Regions from separate parts of the Homo sapiens genome. Here region 1 is linked to region 2. Evidence: promoter capture Hi-C in 16 types of primary human blood cells and fetal thymus (Javierre and others, 2016). All regions are on one chromosome and are shown on one strand. Each heading gives the region's core, a stretch centred on a gene start or on the middle of the fragment in contact. The rest is flanking DNA. Distances are from core to core; before and after follow the strand shown. Region 1 holds the start of LRRC23 (leucine rich repeat containing 23). Region 2 holds the start of ACRBP (acrosin binding protein).

The links. The method cuts DNA at HindIII sites, captures the fragments that hold promoters and counts their contacts. A CHiCAGO score of 5 or more calls a contact.
Region 1: a contact is called between the fragment with the promoter of LRRC23 here and the fragment with the promoter of ACRBP in region 2, in 14 of 17 cell types (activated CD4 T cells, non-activated CD4 T cells, monocytes and 11 more). The highest score is 13.7, in activated CD4 T cells.

Annotation. Positions count from the first base shown.
Region 1 is chr12:6,902,209-6,906,071 of GRCh38, reverse strand. LRRC23 (leucine rich repeat containing 23) reads right to left here and starts at 1,250. Exons shown (of 8, transcript NM_001135217.2): 1 at 997-1,250; 2 at 313-487; 3 at 118-227. The coding sequence starts at 438. The HindIII fragment of the contact is 20,869 bases long and covers 1-3,863 here.
Region 2 is chr12:6,645,106-6,649,350 of GRCh38, reverse strand. It overlaps ACRBP (acrosin binding protein), which reads left to right and starts at 1,919. Exons shown (of 10, transcript NM_032489.3): 1 at 1,919-2,027; 2 at 2,339-2,557; 3 at 2,774-2,868; 4 at 4,014-4,131. The coding sequence starts at 1,985. RefSeq lists enhancers at 1,992-2,061, 1,985-2,498. The HindIII fragment of the contact is 16,958 bases long and covers 1-4,076 here.

The sequences.
Region 1 (3,863 bases), core at 1-2,500, 260 kb before region 2:
TTTCCACTAGGCATGAGAAGAGTCAAACTCTCAACCAGAACACCCAGGAATGACAGTGGGAAAGGAGATAGGGGCCCTACAGTCTCACAGTCCTCATCTGGTCCCCCCAAAACGCACCTCTCTTTAACCTCCAGCTTGACATAAGCATGAGCCAGCCCATTGCCTGTCTTACAGAGCAGAGAAAGCCCTTCCTTCATCATGTCCTCCGTGAGGGGGGTGGGCAGCCACTGCAGGTAGAAGTGGAGTAAGGTGTCTCTCCCCTGCCCAACCCCCTCCTTCAGCCCTAGGACCCCTCCTTGTCCAGGCTCTCACTTCCTCAGGGAACTCTTCCCCCTCTTTTCTGTAGTCCTCCCCCTCCTCTGTCTCCTTCTCGTCCTCTTCTTTCTCAGAATCATCCTGGTCTGGCTCAGAGTCTTCTAGATCATCTTCATCTGACATCTTTCTTCCCTCCTGAAAGCTCTGGAGTCAGATAAGCTCAGTCCTCCTCCTGAAAAAGAAGGTCTCATCAGCTTCTGCCAGCCTTCAGCTCCTTCATCGTCATTGACACGTGCCACTCCCATCACCCCCATGACTTCTGACCCACCAACTCTAGGCTTCTTTCCTTATCCCTGTGAACATCTCATTTTGATTCTCAACTCCCACTTCACACTTTCCACTGAGGACCCCCTCCCTTCAGGATGTCACCCACACCCCCAGGCCTTTCCTGTCCTTCACAGTGACTCCAGCTCTCCTCCAGCAGCCGGGTGTCCCTATTTCCTGGGCTTCCCTCTCCCCCATTCTTCCCACCTCCCCCTTAAGCCATGCTCTCCAATCTTCCCTACCAATTCCTCCTCCTCTCCTCTCAGCTCCCATTGCGCCATCCGTAATCCCTGCTCCATTCATTTCTTCTACTTTTCCCTCCCCACTGGGCCAATTTCCTTGGGCCCTCTGGTACACCAGCCTAAAGCGCAGTCTCCAACCCTCCCACTCAATTCGCCTTAGCAAAGGGGCTCAGACCCTGTTTCTGCTCAATCAGAAGCAGTTCTGGAGAGGCCCTTGGTCCCGAGAGGGAAGGACTGTTTAGCAAGCGGGCGAGGGGAAGGAGGGGTTGTGTACTGCTGTTATGGCAACGGGGACGGGGCACTTGGCAACTGCAGCTCGCCACCGTTGAGAGTAGAGCGGCGACTACCTGATGCGCAAATCAGCCGGGGAGGGGATTGATCAGTAGTTGCCTGGTTACCACGCCACTTTCCCGTCCCGGGAACCCGGATGAGGCGCGGAAGGGGCGTTGGGCCGCTAATTGGCTGAGGACAAAAAGAAGTGGGCAGGGCTGAGAAGCGAGAAGAGAGGGGGCGGGGCTAGTCATTACGTCACCCAAGACCTTAAAGGGACCGGACATCTTCAATGCAAAAGTATTGTGAATTCAGGAAAAACTCGTCCTTCGAAGCAAAAAGGGCGGGGCTGCGAGGAAAAGCAAGAAACACCAAGATAAGGGGTCTTTTCCCCTTCCCCCTATAGTTTCTGCTCATTAGTTATTTTCAGGTAGACCTTTGGAAGGTGGCTTGGTGGAGCGGAAGGAGTCCAGACCCAGATACCTTAAGAACTGGGTTGGAGTCTTGGCAGATCTGCATTTGCTAGCTAAACGTACCCAAGACTCTTTGTTATCTGTAGAATTAGCTTAACTATATCAACTGACAGGGATCCAGTATGAGTTATCCTGGACTGGTTTGATGCAAACCTTTTAGTGGGTGGAAGGCAGAAAATTCAACATCTGCCCACTAAAATACTCCTGATCCAACGTTGTTATATCAGTAATCAACAGGAACTGGCATAGCCAAACCCAGGCACTCAGGCCTGTCTGACATGTTGAAGGAGATGAAAAAGATGTTGAGATGCAATAAATATTTCTGGAGAGTTTGTGCGAGACATTATGTCAAACATCTTTACAACTGATATTTAATCTCTGCAACAGTCCTGTAAGATAGACATTTGAAAGAAGAGGATACTGAGGCTCAGGGAGGTTAAGATGACACAATTCCTGCCTGGGGAAAGGGGGATGTTACCAATCTTGTTGTGGAATCTAATGTAAATGAAACAATGAGGTAACCAGGTAAGATGGCATGTGATTCATTGTTAAATTGTGCCCACAGACTTTATATAACGGCAAAGTGGTCTGGTGGAAGATGTGGTGGGCAAGAAATCAGGAAGTATTATATTACCTCCTGCCCAGGGCAGCTTGGAGGAATGTGGTTAATAGGCAAATCTGTTTACTTGGTGTCATGGAACCAGTAGGGACTTTAAAGTCAGAGACACCAGCTTCAAAACCCATCTCTACTACTTAATACCTGTGTGTCCTTCAGCAGGTTATGAAATCTTACTGAGGTCTAATTTCCACAGTCGTGAAATGGGGATTATTAAAACGTCCACCTGTAAGGATTGTTAAGGGATTAAAAGAGATAATGTGGGTAAATCGCCTTGCACTTAGTTGACCCTTAGTAAACATTTTCCTGCTCCTCCCCACCCCTGGCCTGTGTCCTTGGTACTGGGGTTGCTGTGAGGAAAAAGAAATAATAAATATGAACACTCTGAAGAGTGAGATGTGCTATACAAATGAAAGTTATTGTATTGTTGGAGTGTGGAGAAGGGAAAAATCCATGTGGTTTGATGTAGTCAAAAGAAATGGATATGAGTTTCCTTGGCCAAGAAGAAAGAGGAAGACACATTAGATGGGAAGAAAAGTTGTGATGTAAGGGTTAGGAAGGTGTCCTTGAACATACACTTTTGTTATTTTGTTTTTATTTTTGTTTTGAAATAGAGTTTCCCTCTGTCGCCCAGGATGGAGTGCGGTGGAGCAATCATAGCTCACTGCAACGTCCACCTCCTGGGCTCAAGCAGTCCTTCCGTCTCAGCCTCCTGGGTACCTGGGACTACAGGTGTGCGCCACCATGCCAAGTTAATTTTTTTGTATTTTTTGTAGAGACAAGGTTTTGCTATGTTGCCCAGGCTAGTCTCAAACTCCTGGGCTCAAGCAATCCGCCCGCCTCGGCCTTCCAAAGTGCTGGGATTATAGGCATGAGCCACTGCGCCCTGCCATGCTTTTGTTAAGCACTTAATCTGTCCCTGTGCTCCGGGACAGTAAAGCACAGAAGTCCTTATCTTTTATCTTCAAGAGGTGTACAGTTCAGTGACAAGATTAAGTACACAAGTAATTCAATATAATGAGACATGTTATAATAATCATACCCAACATTTATAGAGCTTTTACTAAGTGCTAGGGATCATTGTATAGTATATGCATATACATGATATCATATATTCGGGGCAGAGATTTCAGAGGCAGGAATCACCTGTGGTAATGCTTGGAGAAGAAAGAGCTCAATGCCTGTGCAAAGAAAGCAGGTGGTTCTGCTGGCTGGAACAGTAGGTGCAGTCGGGGGTTGGAATATGGTAGAAGCAGTAAACAGACTTGGATCACACTGAAGGATCTGGACTTTATCCTGAAAGCTGTGGGGAGCTATTGAAGGTTTTATTTCGTGTTTAGTTGGCAAGGACTGAAGTTACACTGTGTAATGAGAGCTAGATACTCCACAACATCCTTGATATTTTTCCCCCATCGGCTGGTCTAGATAGAGTCTCTTTCAATTATAAAAGTAATATTTAGGCTGGGCGTGGTGGCTCACGCCTGTAATCCCAGCATTTTGGGAGGCCTAGGCGGGTGGATCACCTGAGGTCAGGAGTTTGAGACCAGTCTGGCCAATATGGTGAAACCCCGTCTCTACATACAAAAAATTAGCTGGGGTGGTGGCTCGCACCTGTAATCCCAGCTACTCGGGAGGCTGAGACAGCAGAATCGCTTTAATACAGGAGGCCTAGGTTGCAGTGAG
Region 2 (4,245 bases), core at 670-3,169:
TTTTTTGAGATGGAGTCTCACTCTGTCATGCAGGCTGGAGTGCAGTGGCGTGATTTCGGCTCACTGCAACCTCCATCTCCCGAGTTCAAGCAATTCTCCTGCCTCAGCCTCCCGAGTAGCTGGGACTACAGGCACATGCCACCACGCCTGGCTAATTTTTTGTATTTTTAGTAGAGACAGGGTTTCACCGTGTTAGCTAGGATGGTCTTGATCTCCTGACCTCGTGATCTGCCTGCCTTGGTCTCCCAAAGTGCTAGGATTACAGGCATGAGCCATCGCACCGGCCAAGTTTCACCATTTTGGCCAGGCTGGTCTCAAACTCCTGGCCTCAAGAGATCCACCCTCCTTGGCCTCCCAAAGTGCTGGAATTCCAGGAATGAGCCACAGTGCCTGGTCTCTATTTTATTAATTTATTTTATTTTATTTTATTTTTGAGACAGGGTCTCACTTTGTCACCCAGGCTGGAGCACAGTGGTGAGATCTCAGCTCACTGCAGCCTTGACCTCTGAAGACTCAGGTGATCCTCCTACCTCAGCCTCCCCAAGTAGTAAGTGGGACAACAGGCGCACACCACCACACCTGACAATTTTTGTATTTTTTGTAGAGACAGGGTTTCGCCATGTTGCCCAGGCTGGTCTGGAACTCCTGGGCTCAAGGAATCCACCCGCCTTGACTTCCCAAATGCTGGGATTACAGGCGTGAGCCACCAAGTCTGGCCCAAGACAATTTCTTGTTTTATTTTTCTTTTTTACTTTTGCTTTTGGGTGGGGACAGGGTCTCACTTTGTCACCCAGGCTGGAGAGCAGTGGCCCGATTGCACCTCACTGCAGCCTTGGCCTCATGGGCTCAAGCGATCCTCCCATCTCAGCCCCCCAAGAAACTGGGACTACAGGCACGTGCCACCACGCTTGGCTAATTTTTTGTACTTTTTGTAGAGACGAGGTTTCGCCCTGTTGCCCAGGCTGGAATTTCTCATTTTAAACACAAAACAGATACAAAAGCAAAAGTTCTCCTCCCATACCTCAGTGGACTGTCTTACTCGATTCTCCCTTGGAAACCACTTTCGTAGACCACTGAGCCACCCTCTTGTTTTCCCCTTGGACCCATTTTGCTCATGGAGGCGCCCTGTCTAGTTCCTACCCAGATAGGCCTTGACTTGGTTTTGCACATTCTATCTCTGCCTGCGCTTAGCTCTAGACCTCACGACCTGTTTGTTGGGCGAGTTGCTTCCCTAAGCCCCGATTTCTCATCTGTAAAACGAATGATAGTGTATCTACCTTATGGGATTCCTATGGCAATTACGTAAGGTAGTGCATGTAAAGATGCTAAGTGGCTGGCTACGGTGGCTCACACCTGTAATCCCAGCACTTTGGGAGGCCGAGGTGGGCAGATCATTTGAAGTCAGGAGTTCAAGACCAGCCTGGCCAACATGGTGAAACCCAGTCTCTACTAAAAATACAAAAATTAGGCCGGGCATGGTGGCTCACGCCTGTAATCCCAGCACTTTGGGAGGCCGAGGTGGGCGGATCACAAGGTCAAGAGATCGAGACCATCTGGCCAGCATGGTGAAATACCATCTCTACTAAAAATACAAAAATTAGCTGGGCGTGGTGGCGTGCACCTATAGTCCCAGCTACTCGGGAGGCTGAGGCAGGAGAATCACTTGAACCTGGGACGCCGAGGTTGTAGTGAGCCGAGATCGCACCACTGCACTCCAGCCTGGGCGACAGAGTAGGACTCCGTCTCAAAAAAAAAAGAAAAAGACGCTAAGTGAAGGTAGCTGTTTGCCATTCCTACCATCTGGATGGGCTCTGGCCACTTTAGGGCCCTGAGAGCCCGGCTGTCGAGGCCCCGCCCCGGCCCGCTCTTTGTGACGCGTGGGCGGTGCCCGCGTGCGCCCCGCCCCGCGCCTGCGGCTCTCTCTGCGGCTTGGCCCGTTAGAGGCGGCTTGTGTCCACGGGACGCGGGCGGATCTTCTCCGGCCATGAGGAAGCCAGCCGCTGGCTTCCTTCCCTCACTCCTGAAGGGTGAGAGGTTTACACCTGCTCCAACAGACTCTCCCCGGGCTAGTCCTCTCCCTCCCGAGAGCTCTGCTTTTACGGTTTCTGGATCGCTTCCTCATGGTGGTCGCGCTGGGTCGGCTCCCTAGGTCCTGGGATACTCCCATCTCCCCCCGCCCGCGGCCGGACCTTTGCCTCTGTCTCTAGACTCCCCCCGCCCTGGTCAGCAGGGATAACCCTCACCCCGTTCCTAATTTGCCAGTCTGGGTCTGTCTGTCCTGGTCTCGGAGCGGGTTTTGGGGTTCGGTCCTTCCATCATCCGTTCGCCCGCTCCGCAGTGCTGCTCCTGCCTCTGGCACCTGCCGCAGCCCAGGATTCGACTCAGGCCTCCACTCCAGGCAGCCCTCTCTCTCCTACCGAATACGAACGCTTCTTCGCACTGCTGACTCCAACCTGGAAGGCAGAGACTACCTGCCGTCTCCGTGCAACCCACGGCTGCCGGAATCCCACACTCGTCCAGCTGGACCAATATGAAAACCACGGCTTAGTGCCCGATGGTGAGGGCCAGACTAGGGGGGAAACCGAGGCACCCAGAGTGTTCACCCAAACCTCAGGGCAAAAACCCCTGTGCTCATGTGAGGCGGGGAAGGGCATGGCTGGCACCACACCATGAGCTCGTACTCTCCACCCTCCCCATGGCGTGGAGTCCATTGCCCACAGCCCCACCCCAAGCTCCCCACGGGTTCATCTTCTCCACCCCTGCCCTTTCTCAGGTGCTGTCTGCTCCAACCTCCCTTATGCCTCCTGGTTTGAGTCTTTCTGCCAGTTCACTCACTACCGTTGCTCCAACCACGTCTACTATGCCAAGGTGAGGCCCAGGACAAAGGTTGGATTTGGTGCCCCAGGGCCAAGGGAGAGGCGGCAGCAGTGGGGAGTTGAGGAAGGGTTCCAGGAGAGTCATCCTTAGCTCCTCCTTCCCTGCCATTTTGCCAGTCATTTACCCAGATTATATATGAATACAGTCTCACCTTGGATATTCAGATTGAACAATTCTGTTACTGCAAGAAAAGTAGAGAAGAGACTGGGCATGGTGGCTCATGCCTGTAATCTCAGCACTTTGGGAGCCCGAGATGGGCAGATCACCTGAAGTCAGGAGTTCGAGACCAGCCTGGCCAACATGGTGAAACCCCGTTTCTACTAAAAATACAAAAAAAAAAAAAAAAAATAGCCGGGCTTGGTGATGGGCGCCTGTAATCCCAGCTACTCGGGAGGCTGAGGCAGGAGAATTGCTTGAACCCGGGAGGCAAAGGTTGCAGTAAGCCGAGATCATGCCACTGCACCCTATCCTGAGTGGCAGAGCAAGACTGTGTCTCAAAAAAAAACAACAACAGGGACGAGTGCGGTGGCTCACGCCTGTAATCCCAGCACTTTGGGAGGCCGAGGCAGGCAGATCATGAGGTCAGGAGATCGAGACCATCCTGGCTAACACGGTGAAACTCTGTCTCTACTAAAAATACAAAAAATTAGCTGGGCGTGGTGGCAGGCGCCTGTAGTCCCAGCTACTCGAGAGACTGAGGCAGGAGAATGGCGTGAACCCGGGAGGTGGGGCTTGCAGTGAGCCGAGATCGCGCCACTGCACTCCAGCCTGGGTGACAGAGTGAGACTCCGTCTCAAAAAAAAAAAACAAAAAAAACAAACCCAAAACCCAAACAAAAAGAAGTAGGGAAGAGGGATGGGAAGAGGCAAAGAGATAAGCCCTTACGTTTCTTCGAACAGGTCAGTGATTTTGAGTCAAATGCAAAAGTGACGGCAGGGATGTGGCCCAGACAAACAGAGATTCATCTTCTGAAGGGACCCTTTCTCAGGTCTAGAGGGTTCCAGCAGGGACCATGTCCCTTTATCCCTGCCTAGAAACTGAGAGATAAGACATGCTGGAAAAGGGGTTGAAGAACCAGCTGGAGCAGAAGTCTGCCCTTTAGGAAAGGCTTTCCCATTTTCCTTCTCTTCCTGCAGAGAGTCCTGTGTTCCCAGCCAGTCTCTATTCTCTCACCTAACACTCTCAAGGAGATAGAAGCTTCAGCTGAAGTCTCACCCACCACGATGACCTCCCCCATCTCACCCCACTTCACAGGTGAGACCCTCTCAGCAGCCGGGAGACCACCAGCTACTCCCACAACTCCCAGAGCCCACAACGTAAGGCATCCATGGCAGGGAAATGGGAAGCATGTTGGGCGGGAAGGGGGCG